Regions from separate parts of the Homo sapiens genome. Here all the other regions are linked to region 3. Evidence: promoter capture Hi-C in human tissues and cell types (Jung and others, 2019). All regions are on one chromosome and are shown on one strand. The core of a region is centred on a gene start or on the middle of the fragment in contact, and the rest is flanking DNA. Distances in the headings are between cores, read along the strand shown. Region 1 overlaps NLGN1 (neuroligin 1). Region 2 overlaps NLGN1 (neuroligin 1). Region 3 holds the start of NLGN1 (neuroligin 1).

What was found. Contacts are between HindIII fragments. The study calls those that stand out against the background at their distance.
Region 1: a fragment that was not itself captured here is called in contact with the fragment with the promoter of NLGN1 in region 3 in 1 of the 25 tissues and cell types used here (IMR-90 fibroblasts).
Region 2: a fragment that was not itself captured here is called in contact with the fragment with the promoter of NLGN1 in region 3 in 2 of the 25 tissues and cell types used here (H1 embryonic stem cells and hippocampus).

Annotation. Positions count from the first base shown.
Region 1 is chr3:174,134,603-174,137,302 of GRCh38, forward strand. The region is part of intron 4 of NLGN1 (neuroligin 1); the gene reads left to right. Among named protein-coding and RNA genes, the nearest start is that of NLGN1-AS1, 220 kb to the left of the region's middle. The HindIII fragment of the contact is 7,394 bases long and covers 1-2,700 here.
Region 2 is chr3:173,917,890-173,920,589 of GRCh38, forward strand. All of the region lies in intron 4 of NLGN1 (neuroligin 1), which reads left to right. NLGN1-AS1 (NLGN1 antisense RNA 1) reads right to left here. Exons shown (of 4, transcript NR_046664.1): 1 at 2,637-2,700. Among named protein-coding and RNA genes, the nearest start is that of NLGN1-AS1, 1.6 kb to the right of the region's middle. The HindIII fragment of the contact is 4,640 bases long and covers 1-2,700 here.
Region 3 is chr3:173,396,407-173,399,106 of GRCh38, forward strand. It overlaps NLGN1 (neuroligin 1), which reads left to right and starts at 1,338. Exons shown (of 7, transcript NM_001365925.2): 1 at 1,338-1,657. RefSeq lists an enhancer at 1-106. The HindIII fragment of the contact is 5,603 bases long and covers 1-2,700 here.

The DNA.
Region 1 (2,700 bases), core at 2-2,501, 740 kb after region 3:
TGAAGCATGTGAAGTAGTGAGAGAAACTTGATTCTTCTTGGTATTTCTACATAGCCCCCCAAAAGCCTGCAACTTCAAGATAAATGACTTGAAGCTGGATAGTGTGGACCCTGGCAATTCTGAGGAAACTCTCGTATGCCACCAGGAAAGTAAGGACTGGATCAATTTCTCATACACAGTTAAATGCGACCTGACCAGTGGAGACACAAGTGGGTGCCCAGGTAAAAGCAGAGGCGAAGGTCTAATTCCATATTCCCAGATATCCAGCAAATTTTTGGAAGCATATGCAAGAAAGATTAAGGCTGTGCCTTTCTACTGTATTCCTGGAGGAGCTGGCACCCTGTCTGATATTTATGCTTCCTTTTCAGAAACAATTGTAGGTACTTCTGACATAGAAAAAAACCCCGCAATTTAGTGTTCTGCCAAAGTTCTGAGATTATTAAAACCATTTTCCTAATGTCTTTATTATAATACCTATCATTCTGATCATCCCACGTGTAACACTATTGTTTCTTAAGATTTCTAATGCATCTTAATCAGACATTTGGTATCCTAAATTAACCATTATTGAGGCAATTTCATGGAGGTTGTATTTCTCAGAATCTTTATTTTAAATAGTTTATTAGGTAAATGTCTGAAAATACTGAGCAAACTGATAAGGTAAAAAACATTTGTTTTTATTTTTTGACAAATGAAATTGTAAGTAGTTAGCTAGAACATACGATAGAATTGTTTTTGGTTACATCCTAATGATAGGCAGAGGACATAAAGGTGTAACATGTTTCAAGGTAAACAGTTAAATATGCTCGAAAGGGAGCAGTAGTTGTCTAGAGAATATGTGGCTTAAAGCAAATATTTTTCTAACCCTCGAGAGATGTTAATGATTCCTATTAATAACACAGATAAATCTTTGAAATAACAAGCTTTTTTATTCACTCTAGTTTTTAGTAAATGGGTTTGAAGTGCTAACAGTTTTGACTTTTAAAAGAATATTTGGTTATTTCCAGATCTTCTGTGTAACAGAATTTACATATTTACAGTAGTTGAAATATGACCTAATAGAATACCAGGGAATACAGGATCCAGTGCTGGAATCGTCACTGTGGTCATTTGATACTTAGTTTAACTAAAATAAAAATTGAATTTTATATACTGCTATGTACGTGAGACAAAATTTACCGATCAAGAACTATCTTGACTAAGTAATTCCTTATTATTTTAAGCTAGTACTTTTAGGAAAAGCCATTTTTAAGATTCAGACCCAGATCAAATCTGGTGAAATAATAAAATGGGAACTATTATTACTGTAGCATTGAAAATTGAGATTCAATAAGTAAAAAGTGACTACTATTTGCAGGCCGCTGTTATTAAATTTTAAAATTCTACCTCTCGCTTCTTCTTTCTGCCTGAACATGGCTTAATTTATCTTCTAATATGTTTAAAGCCATGCATGCTTGTGGAGGGCTTTGATCTTTGCTTCCTCTGGAAATAATTTTGAAATTGCAAGATTGGAACAGTCCTCAATTTCTGAACATCTGCAGCAGGATACAATAGATATAGGTTACAAAAGATGTTTGTAAGTTCCAAAAATACATATCTGATATATTGGTGGAATGTTCACATTAATATTAAGAACAGGAAAATAAAAGGCACATAGCAATACATACTATTGGGTGTTTGTTACCCCCACTTTCAGATACTGTAGGAAATAACTACATTTGAATAAATACTTCAGCCTGTTTCCATGACCCTATCCCTAAACTGATACGCTTCAGTATTATTAAATTGGGACTTAGGTCATTGTTTTGTGAGGTCACAAAGCCATATAAGATATAGGAGAAAATTGACACTTACTGGGTGGGCAGAGCAACATTGTTTTGACAGTGAAAATTACCAATTTATAATTTTTTAAGAAAAGCATGCCTAGCACAGACCACCTGATTACCAAGAGGAAGCTGAAGAGGAGATTCTACTAGAGGTAAGGAAGAGATATTGTTTTCTTGACTCTGTTCATTAGGTTCAGGGTAAGCAACTCTATTTACCAAGAATAAGCTAGCTCTCTTTCATTTGAAAATATGTCTGCCCAGGTAGGCCTGCAGACATAACAATGTTAAAAACAGGTAGCTTTATTGCAGCACTTATCAGTACCTTGACTATTCAAAGGTGTTAATATGCCAGGTTTCCCAAAGTAATTAATTTTTATCTTACAGAATATTTGTTCCATTTACATAGTTTGGGAAACACAGCCATAAATGTTACAGATGCTCCTTGACTAATGATGGGGTTGCATTTCAATAATGCCATCATAAGTTGAAAATACCGTAAATGGAAAGTGCATTTAATACATCTAACCTACCAAACATAGCTTAGCCTAGCCTATCTTAAGCATGTTCAAAACACTTACATTAGTCTACAGAGGCAAAATCATCTAACAAAAAGCCTATATATATGATAAGGTGTTGAATATCTCATGTAATTTATTGACTACCGTGCTGAAAGTGAAAAACAGAATGGTTATAAGGACACTCACCATTAACATTCGCAGTTGAAACCACCATTGCAAAGTTGAAAAATCATAAGTGGAACCATCCTAAATTGAGGACTGTCTGTATTTTCTTGGATATTTCCTGAAATATGTTTCTATGTGTTTCCATCTAATAGAAAATGGAATATACCAGCAAGCAAAATGTCTAAATATTT
Region 2 (2,700 bases), core at 11-2,510, 520 kb after region 3:
TTGTTGATGAATGGCTTGATTTTAAATCAACAGGCTATGGTTCAAACCATTTCACTTCCTTTCAGTTTGTCCATTTGTAAGTTAAACTTTTAAATTCAGTCCCTTTTCTGTAAAACTGCAGTAAGAACACGTACCTCTAAGGCTGTTTTATGAATTAAATAAGATAATGTATGTAAGATGGTTATCATATTGGCACATATTAAGTATTCAGTCAATTATAGTACTTGTTCTTATTATTTATTAATAGAAGTAATGCATTCGTTACTTATTAATATCTTCCAAAGCTTGAACTTTGTAGTTCTTTAAACGTATTTATGTGAAATCTTAACTGTGCTTACTTAATGCTTCATTAAGTGTTGCAACATGAAATGACCTCACTATTATTAAGTATCATTACAGTTCTCTGTAGCTTGCTACACATCTACAAAAGGTATCAAACACCGGAATTTTAAAATGCATAGAATGGGCCGGGCGCGGTGGCTCACACCTGTAATCCCAGCACTTTGGGGGGCCGAGGCAGGCAGATCACGAGGTCAGGAGTTTGAGACCAACCTGACCAACATAGTGAAACTCTATCTACTAAAAATACAAAGATTAGCGCCATGCGGCAGCGTGTGCCTGTAGTCCCAGCTACTCGGGAGGCTGAGGCAGGAGAATCACTTGAACCTGGGAGGTGGAGGTTGCAGTGAGCTGAAACCACACCATTGCACTCCAGCCTGGGTGACAGTGAGACTCCATCTCAAAAAAAAAAAAAAAAAAAAGAAATACATATGTGTGTGTGTGTGTGTGTGTGTGTGTGTGTGTGTGTGTGTGTATATATATATATTGCATAGAATGGTAACGTCTTCTAGTCCATTTATTGCCTTTATTGAGTGTATCAGTTTCCCATTGCTGTTGTAACAAATTACCACATATTTAGTGTTATAAAACAACATAAATTTATTATTTTATAGTCCTAAAATCAGTGTGTCTACAGGATTGCATTACATTTGGTGGCTCTAGTAGAGAATCTATTTTCTTGCCTTTTCTATCTTCTAGGGGCTACCTGCATTCCTTGGCTAGTTCCTCTGCTGGTTTTGAATAAACTAGCAGTCCAGCATGTTCAGATTTCAATTTCTGTCTCTGATTTTGCTTCAGTCACCACATCTTTTATCCTGATTCTCACTCTCCTACCTCTCTCCTTTTCTTACAAGGACTCCTGTGATTATATTGAGTCCACTTGGATAATCCAGGATAATCTCTATATCTCAAGATCCTTAACTTAATCATATCTGCAAAATCTGACAAATGTATTTGTAACGTAACATATTCAAGATTCTGGAGATTAAGACTCAGACATCTTTGGGAGGCCATTTTGTATCTGCTACAGAGAATATGAAGGAAAAAGCTGTTTATCCCCTTGAGGACATAAAGGACATATTAAGGAAAAGATTCAAGTTTACTGTTGTTCATATTTTACTTTACAAGCATATTTCAAAGAGGACAGAGCAGAAAAAAATTTTCTTGGGTTTTTACCATATGACAGAATCCATGTGAGATAATTTACACAATTTCATTAAATTGTCTAAGCCACACTCACTTTATTAGGAAGGTTCCATTAGCCACATTTCACAGAAGAGGAAACAGGACTCCTAGAAAAATTTGTCCAAAATCATCCAGCTAATGGTAGAGTTAAGAATTTGAAATAAGCCTGGCCAATTCCAAAATCCACACTCTTAACTAGGTCATGCTCTGTCTATAACTCATTGTATCTTAGCTAGAACAGTTTAAAAGAATTCCTAAAATATGGATAAAATATTTAAGGATTTCTATATTATATTAAATGGCTAATTGTACATTTTACTCATGTTTTTATCTTCTGTTGAACTAAAAATGAAAAACATGCAAACAAAAAATGTTCTAGTAGATATATAGCTATTAAATATGCACAGTTTTGCTATAGAGAAGACTCATTTTTCTTTCTTAATAAATAATAGACATTTTTCTAAAAGTTTTATAAATCTTAACATATATGCAATCAATATTTAAAATATTAACATGGATACTGAAGAGCTTTGTACTTAATTTAATCAAAGGAGAATGCTGGGATGCTATTTTTTAAAAAAATATTTTAGTCATAGGACTTTAGATTGCAAACTGCCCAGAGCAGGGTTGAGAGAGACATTGAGAAAAAAGGAGCAAACCTAGTATCTTGAGAAACTGAAAATTCTAATGTTGATCTTCAGGCTGAAAGGGCAGACTAGATACAGATACTCTGAGGCCACTTATTTGAGATAGAAATAAAAAAGGCTTGGATTATCTCTTATGGTTATCAAGTGTTCTAGCCTACTACTAGACTAGATTACTGCATATGAAGTACCAAATAAGTGGCCCTTTGGATTGAATGATTCATTGACTCCTAAAGCAGGTGTGTTAGAAAGAAAGCACAAATGTAAACGTTATATTGCCATTGACTGTGCTCATAAAATAATGAAAACTATGATAATATAATTTGTTTTCTTCAGATTTGGGCCATATCTTGTATCACATCATATAAGAAAAATAGAAGACACAGTCTGGCACAAAGTTTACTCAAATGTCACAGGTGCAGATTGTTCTTGGTTGAAGGGACAGATGCTACCATAACACCTACCAACCTGCTAGTTCGGCTATTTTCATCTTCAGCCACCTTCAAGCATGTGAGAATGCATATGAGTCATC
Region 3 (2,700 bases), core at 88-2,587:
TTGGATTTACATGCAGGAAACGTATATATGTTTATATACCGACCGCATAATATATAAATACATATACGCGTGCCCAAGGGCCTGGTTTTCGTCTCTCCTCCCCACGAAACGGAATGTTTTGGAGCCGATGGATAACAAGAACACTATTAACATTCTTTTGAGCCTGTTTTTTAAAAGGGGGAGGGAGCGTGAAGAATTGTTTAACATTTGGCCATCGTTTGGCTGCACACTAAGCACCACGAAGTATTTATGGTTGCAGATCAGGTGCAAACGGGGCTTAGAGAGAAAGGTAAGGGAGCTTCCTGCGTCCGCCGAGCTCCGGCGTTTACCTTAATCCCGGGGATTGCCGAGAACTTCCTATTCCCTGCCTCTCCTTCGCCTTCCCCACCTTCCACCCACCCTTCTCTGCTCTCTCTCTTCTGTAAACTCAACCCTTTTCCAATCCCATTGGGGTGGGGGTGGGGGGTGCTGGAGGTATAATCGTCTATTTGAGTTTAAATGCGTCTCTCTTTCCCAGGCTAGTAGCTGAGTTTTCCAATAGCCTTTCTGGCGGTTTTAGGAAATCGTGTCCTTTATAAAAAATAATGCTACCTAAATAAGTGTTTTAAACATCTGAAGATGCCAGTCCCTCACCCTATCCTCTGATGAAAATAAAAGCAATAAAAAATAATGAACTTTAATAAACTGGGTGGTTTTTTTTAAGCGTTGGGGTTCATGGAAGCTCCCAAACGCTTTTTTTCATTTAAAAAGAAAGATAACCAGCAAACAAACCAATCTCAGGAGGAGTCCACAGTGGAGGAGATTCGCCTTCCGTTTCTGCATAAAACCAATACATTTTACTTGGAGGGTAATTTGCCAGAGTTGAGCGAGACGAAGCCGTGTCTAAATAAGTACATGACACTAAATTTCCTTTTAAATCCACCTTTTACACCATGGCCAGTCGCTTGTTTAACTCCCGTTCAAGGGACACGGTTTTCAAACGTGACCTTTTGGGGAGATGTGGGAACTTCCCCTCATTTCTTCTTCTGTGCCGCTAACCTCTTTCCTCCTCCGCGCGGCATCTCCAGCCCCGGCAGTTTGTAAATTGCCCGTTTTGCCCACCCTCCTGGTGGGCGTTCTCTCCCCCACTCCACTCCTGCCCCCTCTGTCCTTTCTTCATTGGCGTCTTCGGAGCAGATGCATCTTCTTTCTTCTTGGCCTCACTCTCCCGTTCCCCCGTCAGTCCCCCCACCCGCGGCTCCCCACTTGCCCCAGCTCTCCTCGCCGCTCCTCCCCGCCTCCCCGCGGAGGGTTGACCCTTCAATTCGGAGTCCCGGCCTGTGGGCGGGCGGGGGAGCGCCGCGGCTGTAAGCCGAGGATCAGGCGGCGGCGCGGAGAGCGCGCCCGGGCGGCCAGCGCCGAGCGCGCGGAGCTGGCGTGGGGAGACACGGCAGGAAAGGCGAGTCGGAGTGGGTGATGAGAGGCCGGGAGAGCCCGTCCGAGCCGGAGAGACCGGAGAGAAGGGAGCGAGCGACTGTGCGGCGCTCACGCTGCCAGAGCCCGGGCGGAGTGCAGTCGCCTCCAAAGCCTTAGAGCGGCGCCCCAGTCACTGCAGCTCTTCACCCTAGAGCTGTGCCCTGGGACCACAGAGACCAAGAGCATGGAAATCGGCTGAGAGGTACAAAAGAAATAAGGAACAGATTACGAGAAAGCGGGGAGGGTTTCCTGGCGAAATACGGAGGCTGAGCAGATGGAGGAACAATGCCGCCTCCAGAAGAAAACCCTTGCCTGAACCCTCGGCGGAGCGCAGAGGAGCTGCTTTCAGCCTTCTGCTCTCCCCAGGCCCTCCGGCTAGTTCTGGGGTTGGTTCCGCCGGTTAGTTTGACAGGGATAAGAAAGTTGCTCTTCTTCCCCACAACGTTTCCTGAGAGGTGGTTTTCAGATCTGTGTGTTTCCAGTCAAGATGTCACTCCCTAGATCCCCCGCGTTGAGCAACTAATATATTATGCATTATTGGGCAATAAACTCTCCTGGGAAGAGAAGGTATTCCAAACATTTAAACCGTTCTCCACCGACTCCTGCCCGCCTCAACACAATGCCTTGTGAGTAGAAATGAAAAACCACCTGAATTTAAAATTATTTAGGTTGAGATTTTGCATTGGGAATAATTTCTTCCAGAGGAGGTTGTTAGTGTGTTATAGAGATGAGGGATATTACATGTCCAATATTTGATTCATTTGTGATAATTCTAAATCATGAACAGTTGGCCTCCACAAAGGTACTATTTCTTTTTGCATTTCCAGGGCCATAGTGATACATATAACACTTGGGAAACGTGAATTCGTATAGTTAACCCAGTATCTGTTACTCTGCATTTTTACAGGTAGTTAATATACTCATTTTCCCTCTTTTTATACTCAAACTCCGGTAGACTATTTTTGCTTAAGTCAATTGAGTTGTCATGCTGTACATGAAAATTACAGGGTCTTAATGCATTTCTCACCATTAATTGTGCTCAATTATTAATAGGATCATAGATATTAAAATGTCACTGAGAAAGGGTATGTGTACCTATGTTTGAGTGTAAAACCTATAAAATGTCTCAGCATTTCTATCAGCCATTGTAACCTAGCAGAACACAAGGTTTTTGAAATGAGCTCAGAAGCAAGGGCCATTCATATATTTAAAATATTAAATGTTAAATGCAAAAACATTAAATTT